7 separate regions of the Homo sapiens genome follow, and all the other regions are linked to region 7. Evidence: promoter capture Hi-C in 16 types of primary human blood cells and fetal thymus (Javierre and others, 2016). All regions are on one chromosome and are shown on one strand. The core of a region is centred on a gene start or on the middle of the fragment in contact, and the rest is flanking DNA. Distances in the headings are between cores, read along the strand shown.

The links. Contacts are between HindIII fragments. The CHiCAGO score rates a contact against its expected background, and 5 or more counts as called.
Region 1: a contact is called between the fragment with the promoter of TAF1 here and the fragment with the promoter of FTX in region 7, in 1 of 17 cell types (neutrophils). The highest score is 6.3, in neutrophils.
Region 2: a contact is called between the fragment with the promoter of RPS4X here and the fragment with the promoter of FTX in region 7, in 3 of 17 cell types (total CD4 T cells, naive CD4 T cells and naive CD8 T cells). The highest score is 6.6, in total CD4 T cells.
Region 3: a contact is called between the fragment with the promoter of OGT here and the fragment with the promoter of FTX in region 7, in 1 of 17 cell types (fetal thymus). The highest score is 7.7, in fetal thymus.
Region 4: a fragment that was not itself captured here is called in contact with the fragment with the promoter of FTX in region 7 in 1 of 17 cell types (total B cells); the score reaches 5.9 in total B cells.
Region 5: a fragment that was not itself captured here is called in contact with the fragment with the promoter of FTX in region 7 in 2 of 17 cell types (activated CD4 T cells and fetal thymus); the score reaches 5.4 in activated CD4 T cells.
Region 6: a fragment that was not itself captured here is called in contact with the fragment with the promoter of FTX in region 7 in 2 of 17 cell types (activated CD4 T cells and naive CD4 T cells); the score reaches 8.0 in activated CD4 T cells.

The regions. Positions count from the first base shown.
Region 1 is chrX:71,364,947-71,367,646 of GRCh38, forward strand. It overlaps TAF1 (TATA-box binding protein associated factor 1), which reads left to right and starts at 1,411. Exons shown (of 38, transcript NM_004606.5): 1 at 1,411-1,548; 2 at 2,553-2,667. The coding sequence starts at 1,429. RefSeq lists enhancers at 175-744, 913-962, 1,453-1,502, 2,021-2,700 and a silencer at 1,103-1,292. The HindIII fragment of the contact is 14,477 bases long and covers 1-2,700 here.
Region 2 is chrX:72,275,919-72,278,618 of GRCh38, forward strand. It overlaps RPS4X (ribosomal protein S4 X-linked), which reads right to left and starts at 1,330. Exons shown (of 7, transcript NM_001007.5): 1 at 1,275-1,330; 2 at 239-316. The coding sequence starts at 1,277. RefSeq lists enhancers at 830-909, 1,080-1,149. The HindIII fragment of the contact is 11,342 bases long and covers 1-2,700 here.
Region 3 is chrX:71,531,699-71,534,398 of GRCh38, forward strand. OGT (O-linked N-acetylglucosamine (GlcNAc) transferase) reads left to right here and starts at 1,406. Exons shown (of 22, transcript NM_181672.3): 1 at 1,406-1,638. The coding sequence starts at 1,602. RefSeq lists enhancers at 457-1,656, 1,157-1,496, 1,322-1,980. The HindIII fragment of the contact is 929 bases long and covers 831-1,759 here.
Region 4 is chrX:72,173,519-72,176,218 of GRCh38, forward strand. No RefSeq gene overlaps it. Among named protein-coding and RNA genes, the nearest start is that of PIN4, 6.9 kb to the right of the region's middle. The HindIII fragment of the contact is 892 bases long and covers 901-1,792 here.
Region 5 is chrX:72,232,651-72,235,350 of GRCh38, forward strand. The region is part of intron 1 of ERCC6L (ERCC excision repair 6 like, spindle assembly checkpoint helicase); the gene reads right to left. It also overlaps a transcript of PIN4 not described here. Among named protein-coding and RNA genes, the nearest start is that of ERCC6L, 5.0 kb to the right of the region's middle. The HindIII fragment of the contact is 1,551 bases long and covers 579-2,129 here.
Region 6 is chrX:76,430,352-76,433,051 of GRCh38, forward strand. MAGEE1 (MAGE family member E1) reads left to right here. Exons shown (of 1, transcript NM_020932.3): 1 at 1-991. The coding sequence ends at 453. Among named protein-coding and RNA genes, the nearest start is that of MAGEE1, 4.0 kb to the left of the region's middle. The HindIII fragment of the contact is 1,241 bases long and covers 792-2,032 here.
Region 7 is chrX:74,292,126-74,294,825 of GRCh38, forward strand. It overlaps FTX (FTX transcript, XIST regulator), which reads right to left and starts at 1,449. Exons shown (of 7, transcript NR_028379.1): 1 at 1,227-1,449. LOC124905199 (a long non-coding RNA gene) reads right to left here and starts at 471. Exons shown (of 2, transcript XR_007068266.1): 1 at 1-471. RefSeq lists an enhancer at 1-703. The HindIII fragment of the contact is 8,135 bases long and covers 544-2,700 here.

The sequences.
Region 1 (2,700 bases), core at 161-2,660, 2.9 Mb before region 7:
TGTCATGAAAAACAAACAAGAAGGCAGGTGATTCTGGACTAAAGGAAGATGACCAAATACAATGCATGAAACGTGAATGGATCCTAGTATTGGAAAAAAGGGAGAATGAGGAAGAGTGCTATGATGTGGTAAAGAAATTATTTCAGTCTATATTATCATAATATGTGAAAAAAGCAAGGTGAAAGCCGGGGTGTTGGCTCATGGCTGCAATCCCAGCACTTTGGGAGGCTGAAACGGGCAGATTGCTTGAGCCCAGGAGTCTGAGACCAGCCTGTGCAACATGACGAAACCCCGTAAAATGTTCCAACTAGGACAACTGGGGAAATTTAAGTGCGGACTCTTCCTTAAATAATATTGACTTACTTCCTAAAGTTGTGATAAAGGTACTTTGGTTCCATAGTTAAGATGCTTATTTTTAGGAGTGAAGAACAAGATGCCCATAAATGGTTTAGAAAAACAAAAATCCTAGCAAAATGTTAACCATTGTGAGTCTAGGTGAGGGGTCAGCTGTTCATTTTACTAAACTTTCACATTTTCCGAAATAAAACGTTGGGGGAACAAGTATTTTTTTTGAGGCGGGCTGGAGTGCAGTGGCCCGATCACAGGTCACTGCAGACTCCAACTCCTGGCTCCCACCTCAGACCCCCCAACAGCTGGGACTACAGGCACTGGCCACCACATCTGGCTAATTTTTTTGATTTTGTGTATGGATGGAGTCTCGCTTTCTTGTCCAGGCTGGCCTCATACTCGTGGGCTCAAGCGATCCTCCCACCTCGGCCTCTCAAAGTGCTGGAATTACAGGCGTAAGCCACCGCGTCCGGTCAAAAAATCAATTTCTAGGGAAAAATGTCAACTCAAAACAAGTAACCTGCATAGCTCGGGAATGCCTGTATAATTTACGTCAAGTCTCTCCTTGGGACGGACCGGTGAAATTGCACGCAGCACAAAGACCGGCTCTTACCCTTACTTCCGGGTATTGTGGTACAGGAACCCGAGGTTGCCTGCGCGTAAGCCACGTGACTCGAGCAGCTCCTTCTGATTGGAGGAAGAGCCACTGCTCTAATTCGGTGCCGTGAGAAAGCTCGCGCGCGGAGCAGTGGGAGCGGGCGGGACTGAATATTTTCTTTGACCAACCGCTTTCCACATATCCATCCTCCTGATCCCGTAGCGTCGAATCAAAAGCCGTTAGTAAAGTAGTTACTTCTTTCTCTTAGGATAGCCGGTCTTTCCGGGTTTTCCCCCCCTTCCCCCTCCCCTCTCCCCACTTCCCCCTCCCTTTCCCCTCTGTTTTGAGCTTCCGGTAGAGGCTGGTAGGGTAAGGGAGCTCAGTAAGTCACTTCTGGGCGACTGTTGTTTTATTTCCGGTCTATGGGACCCGGCTGCGATTTGCTGCTGCGGACAGCAGCTACCATCACTGCTGCCGCCATCATGTCAGACACGGACAGCGACGAAGATTCCGCTGGAGGCGGCCCATTTTCTTTAGCGGGTTTCCTTTTCGGCAACATCAATGGAGCCGGGCAGCTGGAGGGGGAAAGCGTCTTGGATGATGTGAGGGGGTGGGCGTGGGGGTAGGGCTCGGGGGGTGGGGCTAAGCAGAGGAAGGAGGTGCGGGGAGGAAAGGAGAGGGTGCTCAGGCAGCGAGAACAGGGCGCAGCTAACGCCGGGGAGGAGGATCCCGTCCTCATGGGTGCGGGAGCAACGTGGCGTGGGAGTGATCGTTCTGGGGGAGAGTGGGCAGAAGAGAGCGCGAGGCGAGCCCGGGGCCAGGGGCGCAGGGAATAGTGGCTTTGGAGCTAGCGCTCTGCCGACCAGACAGTAGGACACATGCTGGTTTCGCCTACTGAGATGGCTTCCCACCCGTAACCTGCTTGGAGATTCTTGACACTGCCTGCCCCTCTGACATCGCTGCCCTGAGATGGCTCTATAGAGCCAGAGGACTGGACAGGACCTGCCTCCCGCTCGTTTGGTTCCGGCCTCAGGCTTAGGACAATGGGGTGTTCCTAGCACCCGAGCGGGCCTCCTGGTCACAGTGCGCCTTTTAGGTGGCTCTCCCAGCGTCTTCACTGACTTTCGTGAAATAGTGTCCTGCGCCCTAGTGAAACTACCCTGCCTTCACTTAGGCCCGTTTTCTTGAGGAGTGAAGCTGTCGGCCGCTGTGGCCCCTCCTGTGCCGCAGGCGCATGCGAAACAGGGACCGAACGAGCCCCGCCTCGACGCCTCCAATCCCACTGATCCCCCTGCCTCGGCCCTCGTTCCGAGAACGACCGTTCCATTCATTCAGTCTTGGCAGTAGTTATTTGATTCGTCTTCTCTTGTAGTATACTTTAAAGTGTGGGCGATGCAGTTGGCTGTGGTGCTTTAATAAAGATCTGATCGATGCGGAGTTTGGTAGATGTATATTACAGTTCTCGAACGTGTTGCTTGTTTTGGCACACTGCACAGTCATTTTTCATGTGGATTTGTGACTTTGTCGTGGACCAGGGAAATAAGTCCTGTGGTGTGGGAGTCGTAGGTTTAGTTGTTATCTTCGACTCGTGCTGTCCCTTTTTCAGGAATGTAAGAAGCACTTGGCAGGCTTGGGGGCTTTGGGGCTGGGCAGCCTGATCACTGAACTCACGGCAAATGAAGAATTGACCGGGACTGACGGTGCCTTGGTAAATGATGAAGGTGAAGTCTGGGTTGTGGGGAGTAGGCGGGGGA
Region 2 (2,700 bases), core at 80-2,579, 2.0 Mb before region 7:
GACCAGGATCATTAAGAACATGAATCCTGAGTCCATGTAAATGTACTATGTGGTATGTGGAATAAATGAGGCACAAAAATATTAAATCGATTGGAAGTGGAGGACAGCTAGATAGTATAGCTCCTTCAAGGGCAGAGGAAGCCAAGAATAGATATTCCTCCCCTAGCCTGGTCCCCAAATGAGTCCTGGGAGACACTTAAAAACAGTGGCCACGGAAATATTTATATAAGATACTTACAAACACACCGGTCAATTTATCCAGCATCCAATGCTTTGGAGCTGCCACCCGCTTCAGATGCTTCTTGGGACCACGAGCCTGAAAGTTTTAGATTGCAATGCTGTTAATCAGGTTTCAGAACAGCTTATAAAACCTAGTGTGAAACTAAACTCTTAGTTTAGTTTCATCTTCAGCAAAATGTGGACAATATTAAAGTATAGTGTTCCGATAAAACAGAAACAAACACAGTTATTTAACAAACACCGTGAGATCCATAAGCTGCAACAAGCCTTCTTATTGTAACAGAGAATATTCTTGGTTACTATGTTTCAGAACGTTTACTGATTACTATCTTTCAGAACCTTGCTAAAGTGTTTCCATGTTACTGTTTGAAACTGTATCTGCTTAGAGGTTAGGGTCTTTCAAGAACACCATACTAGTGAAACGCACAGCAACAGAAATGAGCCAGGAGTCTACCTGTGTTTCTAAAGTTTTCACAATTTATTACCGTCTGTTTTTGACACGTATGGAACAAGATTCTGACATCCGCACAAACACATGTGCTGCTCCTTCGTACACTAAAGCCAAAAGCTGACACCAATTTTACTTTAAAAAGAGTAAGGAAGCCTTTTTAATGCTGTGTCCAGATGCTTACCGGCCACGTATGGTAAAGTCAGGCCGTGCCAAAAAGGCAATGACAAAGAAAACCTTTCTCCGCCGGGCACCCCCAGCGCCCACCAACCTCGGGCTCGCAGTCTGAGCTCCTGGCCCAGCCGCGGCTCCGGCCCGGGAGGAAAAGCAGCTTCTCCCGGGATCAGGACGTATGGCCGGGTCAGAAACCGAGGCCTTCCCAACAGCAGCACCAGATCTGCGCCTCCCCAACCCTAGGCCAGCGTTCGCCCTTCGCCCTGGAGCCCGTCCCGGCCTACCACGGAGGCCGTGATCCCTTCGCCTCTGCCCGGCCATCCCCAGTAGGAATCCCGAAACCTCGGGCAGCCCCGGCCGGGGGAGGATGGAGGCGGATACGTCCTAAGAGCTCGCTAACTAAACGGCTTACCATGGCTGCGTTAGGCAAGGAAAGAGGACCTCCGTCTTCCGGTGCGCGTAGAAATTGGGGCTGGAGACTGCGCGCGCCGGATTTTCAGCTGCTCCGCCCAGCTCAGCCCTTTGCTGGCGCGCCGGGACTCTTTCTTGCCATCTGCTGGTGGGAGGTCAGAAGTCCCGAGTTGAGGAACCGCCGCGGAAAGAGGGTGTCTCCTAAGGGCGATTTCCTCCCTCCCCTTTTTCCGCCCTTCCTCCTCCCATATTTGCTGAGCGCCTCTTGTGTGCCTTATTCTGTGCTAGGTGCTGGGAATACAAAGATGAGCTACACAACATCCCTGGCCTCAAGGAGAGTTCAAAGTGAGCTTACTTCCAGTCTCACGTACAGATGATTCTACGCCTGTAATCCCAGCACTTTGGGAGGCCGAGGCGGGCGGATCATGAGGTCAGGAGATCGAGACCATCCTGGCTAACACAGTGAAACCCCGTCTATACTAAAAAAAAATACAAAAAAATTAGCCGGGCATAGTGGCGGGCGCCTGTAGTCCCAGCTACTCGGGAAGCTGAGGCAGGAGAATGGCGTGAACCCCGGAGGTGGAGCTTGCAGTGAGCCGAGATCGCGCCACTGCACTCCAGCCTGGGCGACAGAGCGAGACTCCGTCTCAAAAACAAAACAAAACAAAACAAAACAAAGAACTTGTATATAATCAATAGAATACATTTTAATAAATATTTAATGTTATTTCTTAAACGTATTTTGTCTGTCCCTTTTTTGTGTTCCCTTGAGCCAGCCAGGCAGCCCATACTGAGTTGGGAAGAGCCAACAACGTTTTTAACCCCCTCTTGCTTCTCTGCTTGAACTCTGACATCCTCCCCCTTGCTTCCTGTACAACGCATTTGGCACTTATAGAGACTCAGGGAGGAGAGAGGATATTAGAAATCGTCTGGTTATATCTAACTAAAATGTAGATCTGATCCTGCTTCGAAACTGCCCTTGGCCCTCTGTTTCCTGCCGTAAGGGAGCAGGTCTGAACTTTATCTGGCTCCATTGCTCTCTCTCCCCAATCCCAAACTTCAAAGCTCAAGCCCCACCAAGCTAGTTTGTTCCGAGGGAGTCAGCTCTTTTTGTTTGTTTGTTTGGGAGACAGGGTCTCACTCTGTCACCCAGGCTGTAGTGCATGGCTCACTGCAGCCTCGACAGACAGCCCGGGCTCAAGCGATCCTCTCACTTCAGCCCCCACGAGTAGCTGGGACAACAGGCGCACGCCACTGCACCCAACTAATTTTTTGTAGTTTTATTTTTTTGTAGAGACGGGGTTTCGCCATGTTACCTAGGCTGGTCTCAAACTCCTGGACTCAAGCGATCCGCCCGCCTCGACCTCCCAAAGTGCTGGGATTACAGGCCTGAGCCACTGCGCCTGGCTAGAGTCAGCTCTTTCAAG
Region 3 (2,700 bases), core at 156-2,655, 2.8 Mb before region 7:
TACCAGTTAAATCAAATTACAAGAGGTTGGTGCTCAATTTTCAGGAGAGTTTGTGTAGTGATTTTTGTCTTTTTCACTGCATGATGTGACTCTTGATTATGGGATGGAAGAAATTAGCATTATGAATTTTCTCTGTGCCATTTCCATAATTAATTGTTTGTTGACTGTTTTGAAGAAATTTAAGCAGAATTTGAGGACTTAGTTTTAAAAAATGTAGTGAAGGGGCTAGGTAGCAAAAACTTTTTGAAGAAATTCATTGACCTGCTTTCTTAGATCAAGGACTTTTTGAAATAAAAAGGCTCTCAGAGATCCAACTTGTAGCCTCCAGTGGCTTGTAATACTTTCTTGCTGATGTGGCAAGCTACCTTAAGTCGTTTCTAGAACAAGAGGTGAAGTATAAATACCAATGTGACAAAATGTCTGAACAGTAGACTTGAAACTGCAGGAAGATCGTAAGAACCGATTTGTTCAAGGAAGTAGAGGCAATTCATGACTCAATCTAGACGTGTGGTTTAGGCAGATGGCAAGTGAATTCATTTATCATTGTTGATCTGCTTTGAGCTCAGTGGAATCGCCGACTGTGACAATGTGCAGAGCTAGCTGGTGGAAATGAAGTCACAACTCGAGGAGAGTCATGGATTTTGACGAACGTGAATCACCTTTAACATTTTTATGGCTGCCTTCGGAGTGCAAACGCCCAGCATGTCCCTGAGTTATTAAACATTTGCCCTATCACCGTGGGCAGGAGTATTCTGAATACCAAAACGATTTTGAAATTTCAGGCTATACGGCCAACATTGAAGGTGTCTGCATTCAACTGGCCCTGTGAAAGCTTCAGTCTTTTTCATCGAAGTGCTGAAATCGATGGCCGAGTCACAATGAAGACGGGCTCAAATCGGAACCCTCTCGCTCCTCGTTTTGAGCAGCTGTCTTTGAGAGGCAATCTTCTGAATTGACTGGCTCAGAATTGATCCGTGAGAGTCGTAACCATCCGTTTTTGTACGAATACAGTTGATAAACTTTTTTAGACGCCTTTGGCATTTATGTTTAAAACGACACCACCTGCTAAGTAACAAACACTCTTCTTAATCGCGGTGGCAAAAACGTATCCGTCCCGTGTGTGTTTGTTTTTACCCTTCCGCTACACTCTTAAGAAACTTGGCCGCTTCCGCCCCAGAGAGTGCCCTAACCACGAGTCGGGTTGACAGGGCTGCTCGCATGCGCGGTCTCCACCGTGGTGTTTGTCGCAATGGGCGCTGCGCGGAGGACTACATGGAATCTCGACTTTGCAGCTTGAAGTCATTTTGTTGGCGGCGCTGGTTACCGGCTACCTCCGCGCGGGCACTTGATTGTAACAGAAAGTAGTTCCGGCCCATGTTGTTTCGGCCGAGGAGCCGTCGCCGCCATTTCAAGACCGTACTAGGTAGATGGTCAATTAGAGTTCCCAGGGTTTGAAGCCTGTAACTGCTGCCGCCGCTCAAGCCCTCCAGAGCATTGCTACGGCTGCTGCCCTTGTACTACTACCTCCAAATACGTTCTTGCTGGTAGTGGCGGCAGCAGGACCAATTACCTCTTTTTTGCTCTCCCTCGAGAAGCTCCAGATGGCGTCTTCCGTGGGCAACGTGGCCGACAGCACAGGTACCGGTGTCCCGTTCTACCTTGGCAGATGCCCCCTTGGGGTCTCGCGCCGTCCTCTACCTTGTATCACTCCTTCCCTCCCTTCCCTCGAACCATCCCCATTACATCAGTGACATTGCTAAGCTTTTCGTGGTCTACTGGCATCTGATCACATCGGGTTTTCCGCTGTTGTCCGCTTCCCGAACATTTCCTCCTCCTCCCTTGCTTGCTTTTTGCTGCCTTTCTTGCTTTGTTTTTATTTCGTAAATGTTCTAGCATTCCACTCTCTCCAGGCGCTTTTATCACACGTGCGCGCTTAGAATGTCGTGGAATGGACTGCATTGGAATCCCTGCCCTTTCACTCCTTTGCAGCGGTTTTCTCCCCTAATTCCAGCTCATCGCCTCTCCTTTTTCCCCTCCATCTCCTCCTTCATCTCCCCCCCCAGTCTTTTCCCCTTAGCCAGATTTGGTCCTTCTCTGCCAATCTAGGGCGGGGGTGCCGTTCCGATGTAATCATATCCTCACTTTGCATCACCCGAGGACGATCAAAAGCTCGTCGATGGTGCCACAAGTCACCTCGAGAAGAGGGGACATTGAGCAGCACCCTGCTAGGCAGTGCCTTTCTGGTGTTCTTTCGGTTGAGCGGTCCCGGTTTAGATTGGAAATTTCCAGGGGTTTCCTTTGCCATCGCCCAATTCCACCGCTGCCCTCAGCCTGGATTTCCCACCCTGTCCGCGGGGAACCACACCCTTCCCTTCGCGAGGTTGCCAGCCCTGTTCACTTCCTATCCTTGGGGGAGAAACCACCCCGATGCTGCTGCTTTGGCGTTGACCACCCTGCCCGCCCAATTCTCGCTTTGTGTTACTTTCTCGATGTATTCCTCCGCCGCCGCCTCTGGGTCTGCCATCCCCATTCTTCAGCCCAGTATCTCTTTATTCACAGGGTGTAATATTCTTTTAAGTTTCCATCCCTGCTTGAAGAGTTTGTAAAGCAACTGGAGTGTAGCTGCACAAGTACAAGGCGGTTGCCCTTTTAGACACTTCAGTCGCGAGCATTTGGTACTGAAAATACGAAAACAACCAA
Region 4 (2,700 bases), core at 97-2,596, 2.1 Mb before region 7:
GTCTAGCCCAGCCTGGGAAAAAGAAGAGAGTCAGGGAAGGCTTCCAGGAAGGAGGTATCATCTGAGCTCAGTCTTGAAAGGTAAATAAGAATTAGCCAGATCAAAAATAAGGGAAAGCATTCCAGGGAGAGAGATCAGCATGGAGTCTTAAGATAGGGCCTGTAAATAGTAACTTTATATGGTTGCGCCCAGTGGAGACTAGCAAGAAATGAGGCTGCAGATGTCAGTATAATGGGCCCTGGGCCTCCAGGTTACAAAGTGAGATAGTGTCCTATCAGACAATGGGGAGTCACTGAAGGGTCTTAACTGGGAGAGTCACAGTATCAGTTCTGTGTTTCTAAGAGCTCCCTCTGAGATGCCGCAGAAGGTAGTTTGAAGAGAAGGTGAAACTGGCAGCAGAGGGATCAATGTTCCGATGGTCTAGAGAATATGCAGAAGGCTATGGCAGTGGCGGGGAGGGCAGGGGACAAGCCAGAGGTAATTAGTGACTCCTAGTTAACATTATGACAACTGAAGTGTTTAGGGATGGAGTGTGCTGATGTCTGTAACTTGCTTTGAAATGCAACAAAAATAAGAAAAATTGATGGGTGAATATGTGATAAAGCAAATCTAGCAAAATGTTCACTGTTCACCATAAAATTATGGGGGGCAGGGAGAAGTGTTGTTTAGGAGGCAGAATCCACTGAACATGGAGACCAGTGCCCAAGGCTGAGGATGCAGAAGACCTCTTCCCCAGCAGCTCCCCTCTTCCTTGTCTACAGTACCCTGCCCACTGTCCCCCACCCATACTATGTTCCTTCTCCTTGCCTCTGTGCTTCTGCAGCCTGGAAGGTCCAGCACCGCAGGCAGAGGAGAGCACATTCCAGGTTACTCATAATAACATACTGATGCATAAACCAAAGCTTATTTATGTCCCATGTTGGGGGTATAACTTGACCCTGTGGCCTCTTGCACAGTGTCCCTAAATGCCTCAAGGTCCCTGGAGGGCTGATTTGGTGAACATGCTCTCAGAAAAAAGAGAACTGGATGTTCTTAGATTTCATTTAGGGGATGGCAAAGCCTGGAGTAGCATGGCATCATGGAGAGGGTACCAACTTGGAAGTCAGACAGACGAGTTCGTTGCCCAACCTTACCACAGACCCTAGCTAGCTGTGAAACTTGGGGCACATTTCTTAACTTCTCTGACCCTATTTCTTCAGCTTTAAGGTGGTAATAGAGCTGGGTGGGGTGGGTCACACCTGTAATCCTAGAACTTTGGGAGGCCGAGGCAGGCGGATCACTTGAGGTCAGGAGTTTGAGACCAGCCTGGTCAACATGGTGAAACCTTGTCTCTACTAAAACTACAAAAATTAGCCAGGCATCGTAGCAGGCACCAGTAGTCCCAGCTACTCGGGAGGTGGAGGCAGGAGAATTGCTTGAATCTAGGAGGCGGAGGTTGCAGTGAGCCGAGATTGTGCCACTGCACTCCATCCTGGGTGACAGGGCGAAACTCTGTCTCGAAAAAATAAAAATAAAAAAAGATGGCAATAGTAATATTTTCCAAATAAGGCTGTTGTGAACTCTAAAAGAGATCACGAAGGGAAAGCTCCTGGCTCATAGTACGTGTGCAATTTGTGTTGGTTGTTTTCCACTGTCTTAAGTGAACACTGCCTCTAAAAAACAAAATCTACCTCATGAGATACTGGTATAGTAAGGTCTTCCAGAAACTGTAGTTCTTTTGCTTAGATAATGCTGGACAAACACAGATGGAGCCTTCTTCTCTGAAGTCCTTTTTGAAAAACCAGTCACTTAAAGCTTCATTACCTAGTATGAAGTGGGTTAGAAAATTCTTTGGCCACTCATCATGCTACCTGACTTCAAACTGTACTACAAGGCTACAGGAACCAAAACAGCATGATACTGGTACCAAAACAGATATATAGACCAATGGAACAGAACAGAGGCCTCAGAAATAATACCACACATCTACAACCATCGGATCTTTGACAAACCTGACAAAAACAAGAAATGGGGAAAGGATTCCCTATTTAATAAATGGTGCTGGGAAAACTGGCTAGCCTAATATGTAGAAAGTTGAAACTGGATCCCTTCCTTACACCTTATACAAAAATTAATTCAAGATGGATTAAAGACTTAAATGTTAGACACAAAACCATAAAACCCTAAAAGAAAACCTAGGCAATACCATTCAGGCCATAGGCATGGGCAAGGACTTCATGACTAAAACACCAAAAGCAAAGACAACAAAAGCCAAAATAGACAAATGGGATCTAGTTAAACTAAAGAGCTTCTGCACGGCAAAAGAAACTACCACCAGAATGAACAGGCAACCTACAGAATAGGAGAAAATCTTTGCGATCTACCCATCTGACAAAGGGCTAATATCTAGAATCTACAAAGAACTCAAAACGAATTTACAAGAAAAAAAAAACAACCCCATCAAAAAGTCGGCAAATGGTATGAACAGACACTTCTCAAAAGAAGACATCTATGCAGCCCACAGACACATGAAAAAACGCTCATCATCACTGGTCATCAGAGAAATGCAAATCAAAACCACAACGAGATACCATCTCATGCCAGTTAGAATGGCAATCATTAAAAAGTCAGGAAACAACAGATGCTGGAGAGAATGTGGAGAAATAGGAAGGCTTTTACACTGTTGGTGGGAGTGTAAATTGGTTTGACCATTGTGGAAGA
Region 5 (2,700 bases), core at 104-2,603, 2.1 Mb before region 7:
ACACAAAAAATTAGCCGGGTGTGGTGGCACCCACCTGTAATCCCAGCTACTCAGGAGGCTGAGGCAGGAGAATCACTTGAACCCGGGAGGTGGAGGTTGCAGTGAGCTGAGATCGCGTCATTGTACTCCAGCTTGGGCAACAAGAGCGAAACTCCGTCTCAGAAAAGAAAATCACCACTTTGTAATCTCTAATAACTGATTTGACACTTTGGGAGGCTGAGGCAGGTGGATCGCTTGAGACTAGGAGTTCAAGACCAGCCTGGGCAACATAGGGAGACCCCATCTCTTTAAAAAAAAAAACTGATTTGAGCAATAATTATCAATGGTTGAAAGCCTGATGGGTTGGTGGGGAACTGGATATTCACAGAATACTAAGCTATCCTGAACGTATTACTTCCTCATCATAAGGGGGAAATGCAACTTTGCAAAGGAGGAATCAGATTGTAATCACTGAACCCATTGATCAACCTTTCAATAGCATTATTGAAAGTAGGAAAGTCAGATGTTATATACTTCCTGATATGACACAATATAGCTACACAGCCTTCCCTATAAAGTATTCATGCCAAAAATATTGAAGCTTAATCTTATCAAGCCTTTAGTTTAAATTATAGGAGACAGAACAAACTAATGACACTACAAGGAAGACATCACACTAATTCAAATCATTGTCATAGAAATAAAAGTGGAGGGGAGGGGAGAACTGTTCTAGATTAGAAGTTCAAGAAACATAAAACCCAAATGAAGTTGTAGACCTTCTTTGGATCCTGATAAACCATTCAAAAATTTGAGGCTGGGCATGGTAGCTCACGCCTGTAATCACAGCACTTTGGGAGGCCGAGGCAGGCGAATCACTGGTCAGGAGTTCAGGACCAGCCTGGCCAACATGGTGAAACCCTGTCTCTACTAAAAATACAAAAAATTAGCTGGGCATGGTGGTGGGTGCCTGTAATCCCAGCTACTCGGGAGGCTGAGGCAGGAGAATCACTTGAACCCAGGAGGCGAAGTTTACAGTGAGCCGAGATTGCGCCACCACACTCCAGCCCGGATGACACTGCAAGACTCCGTCTCAAAAAAAAAAAATTTGAATATGGACTATGTATTAGATAATATCAATGAATTCATTTATTTTGTTAGGTGTGATATGGCATGGTGGTTTTGTAAGAATATGGTTTTTTTTTTGACCGGGCAAGGGGGCTCATGCCTGTAATCCCAGCACTTTGGGAGGCTGAGGCAGGTGAATCACCTGAGGCCAGGAGTTTGAGGCCAGCCTGGCCAACATGGTGAAACCCCATACTAAAAATACAATAATTAGCCTGGCGTGGTAGCAGGTGCCTGTAATCCCAGCTACTTGGGAGGCTGAGGCAGAGAATCACTTGAACCTGGGAGGCAGAGGTTGCAGTGAGCTGAGATTGCGCCACTGCACTCCAGCCTGGGCAACAGAGCAAGACTCCGTCTCAAAAAAAAAAAAGAATATGTTCTTTTTAAGGAATATATACTTAAGTATTTCAGCGTGAAATGTCATATCTGGGGATTTAAATTATCTTAGAAGATATGAGGAGGAATATCAACAGAATCTGAAGCAGCAGTCAGTGAAGTAAGAAGAAAATCCGGAGAGCAAGGGCTCCTTGGAAGACTAATGAATCATGTGTTTCATGGAGAAGTGATTAACTTCGTCAAGTACTACTGGTCGAGGTAGATGAAGATTGAGAATTGACTGTTGGATTTAGTTATATGAATGTCATTGGTGACTTTGATAAAAGCAGTTTGTGTAAAGTGATGGGGTGAAAACCTGATTGGGACGAGTTCAACAGAAGTTAGGAGAAAAGAAATAGGAAATGACAAGTGTAGACAATGATATGACACCTGGAATTTTGCTGTAAAGGAAAGAGAAGAAATGGAGCAATAACTGGAAATGAAAATAGGATCAAGAGAGGATTTTTTTTTTTAACAATGAAAGAATTGGTGGGCTGAAGTCCTTATACCAGTGAGTGACAAGGGATGAGATCTTTTGCACAAATGGAGGGGTTGTGCCTTAGCTAGAAGCATGGAGAGTTCATCCATACTAACAGGACAGAAGGCAAAGAACACAGAGGGAATAATGCTGGGAAGTAGGTTGATATGGAAGAAGCTTCTGGAAACTGTCTTCTGATTGCTTCTATCAACCCAGTGAAATTGGAAGCAAGAGAGATGAGGGTGAGATGTTGAGGGTCTGAAAAGCAAGAAGGCATGAAACAGGCATCTAGTACAATGGATGAGTGAATACATTAGAGAAATGTACTATGATTGCCAGGCAGCATGAAGGGCCTGCTTGACATCGATATTGATGGATTTCAAGTAAGACCAGTCACATGATTGTTTCTTCAACCATGTTCATCTGAGAGGGCCAGAGTTGGATTTAGCAAAATGTATTAGTTTCCTATTGCTGCCGTTACAAATCATCACAAATGTTAAAACAACACAAAGTATTATCTTTTATCTTACAGGTTATATCTTGCAGGTTATATAGGTTAGAAGTCTGACACAGGTCTCACTGGGCTAAAATTAAGGTTGCAGCAAGGCTGTGTTCCTTTCTGGAGGCTCTAGGGGGAGAATGTGCTTCTTGCTTTTCCAGCTTCCAGAGGCCATACACATTCCTTGGTTCATAGCCCCTTCCCCCATCTACCGAGCCAGGTAGGATAGGTTGAATCCTTCTCACAC
Region 6 (2,700 bases), core at 162-2,661, 2.1 Mb after region 7:
AGGAATCACTCCTATACTCTGTACAACCGAAGGGAGATGGAAGAAACTGAGGAGATCGTAGACAGTCCAAACAGGCCTGGCAACAACTTTTTGATGCAGGTCCTAAGCTTCATCTTTATTATGGGCAACCATGCCAGGGAGTCTGCAGTCTGGGCCTTTCTGCGGGGCTTAGGGGTTCAAGCTGGGAGAAAGCATGTGATTACCTGCAGATACTTGAGTCAGCGCTATATAGACAGTTTACGGGTTCCTGACAGTGATCCAGTGCAATATGAGTTTGTATGGGGTCCTAGAGCCCGTTTGGAAACCTCTAAGATGAAAGCCTTGCGATATGTGGCCAGAATCCACAGAAAGGAACCACAGGACTGGCCACAGCAGTACAGGGAGGCAATGGAAGATGAGGCCAATAGAGCTGATGTTGGGCACAGGCAAATCTTTGTTCACAACTTCAGGTAGAGGAATGCATGGCAGTCAGAGGGGCCTTGCAAGGAGGGGCCTTTGAGCCTCAGTTCTCATGTATTGGGGGGTGGGGGTGGGTACATATTGTATTTGGTATTTGTGTTCCAGTTATATTTATGTCTTTTCATATTTAGTTCTGGTGTGGTGTCTGGAAATGTTTCAACTGTTTTAATATATTGTCTGATTGGGTAAATGTGATTGACCACTTGCTGTCTCTGTTGTATTTTGGTATGAGTTTTGATAGCTCTATAAAATGTTTTGGAAATCTTTCCATCTTGTTGCATTATCTAGAAAAGAATATAGCATATAGCTATAGATATAGGCTTTTCCTTGAAAGCTTGAAAAAAATTCGCCAGTAAAATAATCTAGCTTAAAGTGATAAACTAACAAACAAATATAACAACAACTGAAAAGGCACTCTAAATTGTGGCTGGCTTCCCTTTCTGTCTGCTATTGTATGAAGAATACTGATGTTTACCTGTATTTGCTTTGCTGTACTAAAATGTAATGAAAAATAAAAGATTAATAAATGAAACATAATGCTAATACACTGACTTATTCAACTGCTTTCATACAGTGAGCACAGTGGTGTGCCCTAGTTATAGAAGTATAAAAGTTTACAAGATATAGTACCTGCCCAAGAATTCAGAGGCTGGATAGGGTACAGGGGGAGGTCATTTAAATCACCAATTTATTATGGTGTACTATGTGCTACAATAGAAAAATAGAGAGTGCTATGGTAGTTAAAAAGAGGCACAACTGACCAATTCCTGGGGTGTTCAGGGTGGTCCTTAAGGAAGCTGTTGGGTATGTGGGGTGGGGACAAGATGGGGTCTTTTTTTTTTTTTTTTTTTTTGAGACAGAGTCTCGCTCTGTTGCCCAGGCTAGAGTGCAGTGGCATGATCTCGGCTCACTGCAACCTCTGCCTCCTGGGTTCAAGAAATTCTCCTGCCTCAGCCTCCAGAGTAGCTGGGACTACAGGCAAGTGCCATCACACCCAGCTAATTTTTGTATTTTTAGTAGAGACGGGGTTTCACTATTTTGGCCAGGCTGGTCTCAAACTCCTGACCTCGTGATCTGTCCACCTCAGCCTCCCAAAGTGCTGAGATTACAGGCGTGAGCCACCGTGCCCAGCCAAGATGGGGTCCCTAATACAATCATGAATTAAACTGATTCAAGGCTGGATTTCAGTCTTTATGTGTGCTGGTAGGAAAAAAAGTCAAAGATGTAAGGCCAGAGAGCAGGATATATTGTGTCATCAATGGTTTCAATAAGATACATGAGCCAGCTTTCTCTAAGTTATGCTGTGGGTTTTTAAAAAATACCCAAATCTCAGAGGCTTACAACAACAAAATTTTGGGCTCATTTTACATCCCTTTCATGGGCTGTCTGTGATTCTGTTTATATTGTCTTCCTTCAGGTAACCAGGCTAAAGGAGTAAATCATATATGGGACACCTGTTCTTGTGGCAGAAGTAAAAGAGCCATAGTGGAACCATGTGATAGTTTTCAAAGCCTATGCTCATATATGGCATATTGTAGTCATAATCCATTGGCAAAAGCAAGTCACATGGGCAAGCTTGATGTCAATGAGCTGGGAAGTGTACTCCTTCTACAGGGAAGAACATATAGGAATGGGCCCAGTAGAGAGGAAGAACATATATTTTTGAATAAAAAATTAGTCTACCATATAAGAATTTGGCTTTAGTTGTGAGTGAGATGGAAAACTATTTAAGGCTTTTGATCTGAGCGATGGCAGGAAACCACTTAGTTTTGACAGGATTCTTTTGGCTCTCATATTGAAAAACTAAAGGGGGTGGGGAGGGCAGAAACTCTAATTTTAGCATAGTAATTTCTTCTTAATGTACCTATGAAAAGAGGTGTTATTTTCTGAACAAAATCAAATTTAAAGAAATTGAAGTCAGAAAGCCTGTTATCTTTTAAAAAACACCTTGGAAATCAAACTCCGTGGTATCAAGGTTAAAAGGCATTAGAACATAGTAGTAAGAGCATGTAGTCTAGAGTCAAAGTGCCTGGGTACAAACCCTGGCTCTCTCTGATACTAGAGATGAGAACTCAGGCAAGTTACTTAACTCCTTTGTGCCTCCATTTTTTCATCTGTAAAATGGGCATAATAATTTCACCTACGCCATAATGTTGGGGATTAAATGTGTTAACATGTAAAACACAAGAGCACTTGACATGTAGTTAGCAATATATAAGTGATATTGTTGCATGTTGATTT
Region 7 (2,700 bases), core at 199-2,698:
TTTGCAGAGTCATCATCGCCTCCTCATTTTTGTACCCACTTACCGATAGGCCACTGAGAGGCTAAGATTCTGGGTTAATTTCTAGTGGATCTGGCCACAGCATAGGAGAACTCCAACTCAGGTTGATCCCTTCACTCAGCTAAAAAGGTAGTTCTCTGCAAGGCCTGCTAGCCCAAGATGGCCAAGCAAAGACAGCTTACCTCCCCCCTCGCCATTTTGCAACCTTAATTACCCGAATGCTGAGCGCCTCCCCTCCCCGGCACTCCGTCTGAAATACGCATGCGCGCCGCTTCCTCCTTACCGTTCTCCCCAACCATCCAGATGTTGTCTCAAATATGCATGAGCGCCACCTCTACCTCCCAAACGCTGGTACCAACTCCTAGCAACTTTGCGTTGTTAAATATGCCTGCGAGTCCTTCACTTCCCGACCTTCCAACCCTCCAACCCCGACGCCATTCAAGCCTTGCGCATGCGTGCCTCCCTCTCCCCACCCCCGCCCCACTGGAGCCCGTCCCCTTAACTCAGGTCTTCTCAAATACTGTAAGCTTGAGCGCCGCCCCTCGGCGCCGCGCCTCCTCATCCAGCCTCTCAAATACCCTGCGCACCGCGATAGTCCTCTCTCTTCTTGCTCCCATTTGTATACAGTATGCATGCCTGATGCTATCTGGACGTGTTTCTCGCCACAATTCTGCCCCAGTGCCCAAGGAGAGCCATTACCAGCCTTCCCTAATGCGAGTAGATGCGATAAACTAGGGAAGTTGAATCGGGGAAAGAAGGCGTTGCAGGTGATCAGAGTGAATCCCAGATCTAGATGGAATCGGTCCCAACTCCAAGGGAGGGGGCTAGAGTACCCCAGGATTCACATAAGACCGGTCAACCTGAACAAAGGCAAGGAAAACTTTCACAAACCATCGGATGAACATAATCCTAAGGCCTCGCCCTTTAAATACATCTGCTACAAATGACGAACCACAAATGTTTTAAACAGGGAACATTATGGAAAACACCGATGCTCAGGTGCCTTGACTCTAGTTAGAGGAAAGGAACCCGCATTCCTTTCACAATGGGAAGCAAATGCTCAACATCCTTTTGGAAAACTGGGGCCTGTAACGTATTCCATTTTTTCCTCCCGTGAACTGGAAAAATGCACAAATTAAGGATCTTCCTGGCCCAAGTTCCCTCCGCCGCCCTCCATGTTCTGTTCTTCCCCTACATCGTTCCTTTACCTCCTGGTTGAATTCAGTGTCGTAGCAGGAATTCTTAGAGCTGGCCGTCCCAAGATGGGGTGGAGAGAGCGGCATGAAAGAGAGAGAGAGAGAGAGACACGCCTGAATGGCAGCAGCAGGCCTTAGCGGCAATGGACAGCAGGCACAGGACCAGCTTTGCCTCGAGCCGCAACGCTGATGCCAGAAAAGGACAACCTCTCCAGAATCGCCGCAGTGTGCTTCCAGCGCATGCGCTGCTAACGCCCCTTAACCCCCCCTCCGCGCCCCGCCTCCCCCACGCGCCGCTCTCCAGCCTCTAGGAGTCTAACCCTTAGCGGTCCACCGACCTCCTTCACTTCTTTCCCAGGACGCTATCCCACTCTGCTTCTTCCACCTTTCCCCTCCCCTCGGTCACACTGGCCTCCACCATCATCCCTCCCTCAGCCCATACTTCTTTCGTCAATCCCTCTCCCATTATTCTTAGCCCACCATCTACCTTTATTTCCTCTGCTATCGTTAGTGGTCTACCCTTCAATTCTTCACTTTCCCTGCCAGTCTGCAGCCCTCTTGGGCCTCTTACTCCTCTCCTCCTATGCCTGATGTTGAAATTTGTAAAAATTACCGCAAAAATTTTTTTTTAAATAATTGTAGCCCGGGCGCGGTGGCTCACACCTGTAATCCCAGCACTTTGGGAGGCCGAGGTGGACGGAACCCTTGAGTTCAGGAGTTCGAGACCAGCTCGGGTGACATGGCGAAACCCCGTCTCTACAAATAAATACAAAAATTAGCCGGGCGTGGTGGTGCGCACCTGTACTCCCAGCTATTCAGAAGGCTGAGGTGGAAGAATCACTCGAGCCCAGGAAGTCGAGGCTACAGTGAGCTATGATTGTGCCAGCTATGATGTTGCCAGCCTGGGCAACAGAGTGAGACCCCATCTCAAAAAAAGAAAAAAAATATTTCCACACATCCTCTCCAAAGCAGCTCTCAGGGTGAGCTCAACCAGCCTGTCTTGGGCAAAGAGAACACCTTTTTGATGATGACCCACAGGGAAGATCCAGAGACAGGGAACCAGAACAAAAACTGCAAAAGTGTTCAATCAATTTGGGGGTAAGAGGCAGTAGACCACCAACATGGAAAGCTCTTTTCTTTCTATTCACAACCCTGGTATTGTCTGGACATTAAAAATGAGATTCAATGTCCTTCACTGCTTACTACAAGGCCTGTTCTTGTCTTCTGTAAGAACTCAAATATTAATTTTGAGGGAAATGGCATTATTTACTTAAGAGGCTCTGAAATAGATCCCTCTTTGGGTGTGAACTAGAAAGAATACAAAATAATATTTTGTTTCTCTTTATTATGTTTTACTTTGGTGTCTGGTTCTTATTGCTTTCTAAAAGAGCCAGTTTGGAAATACCAAAAACTGAGACCCGCAAATTCATAAATCCTAAAACTCATAAACTTATACATCACCATCCTCTCAAATTAACTTAAGAAT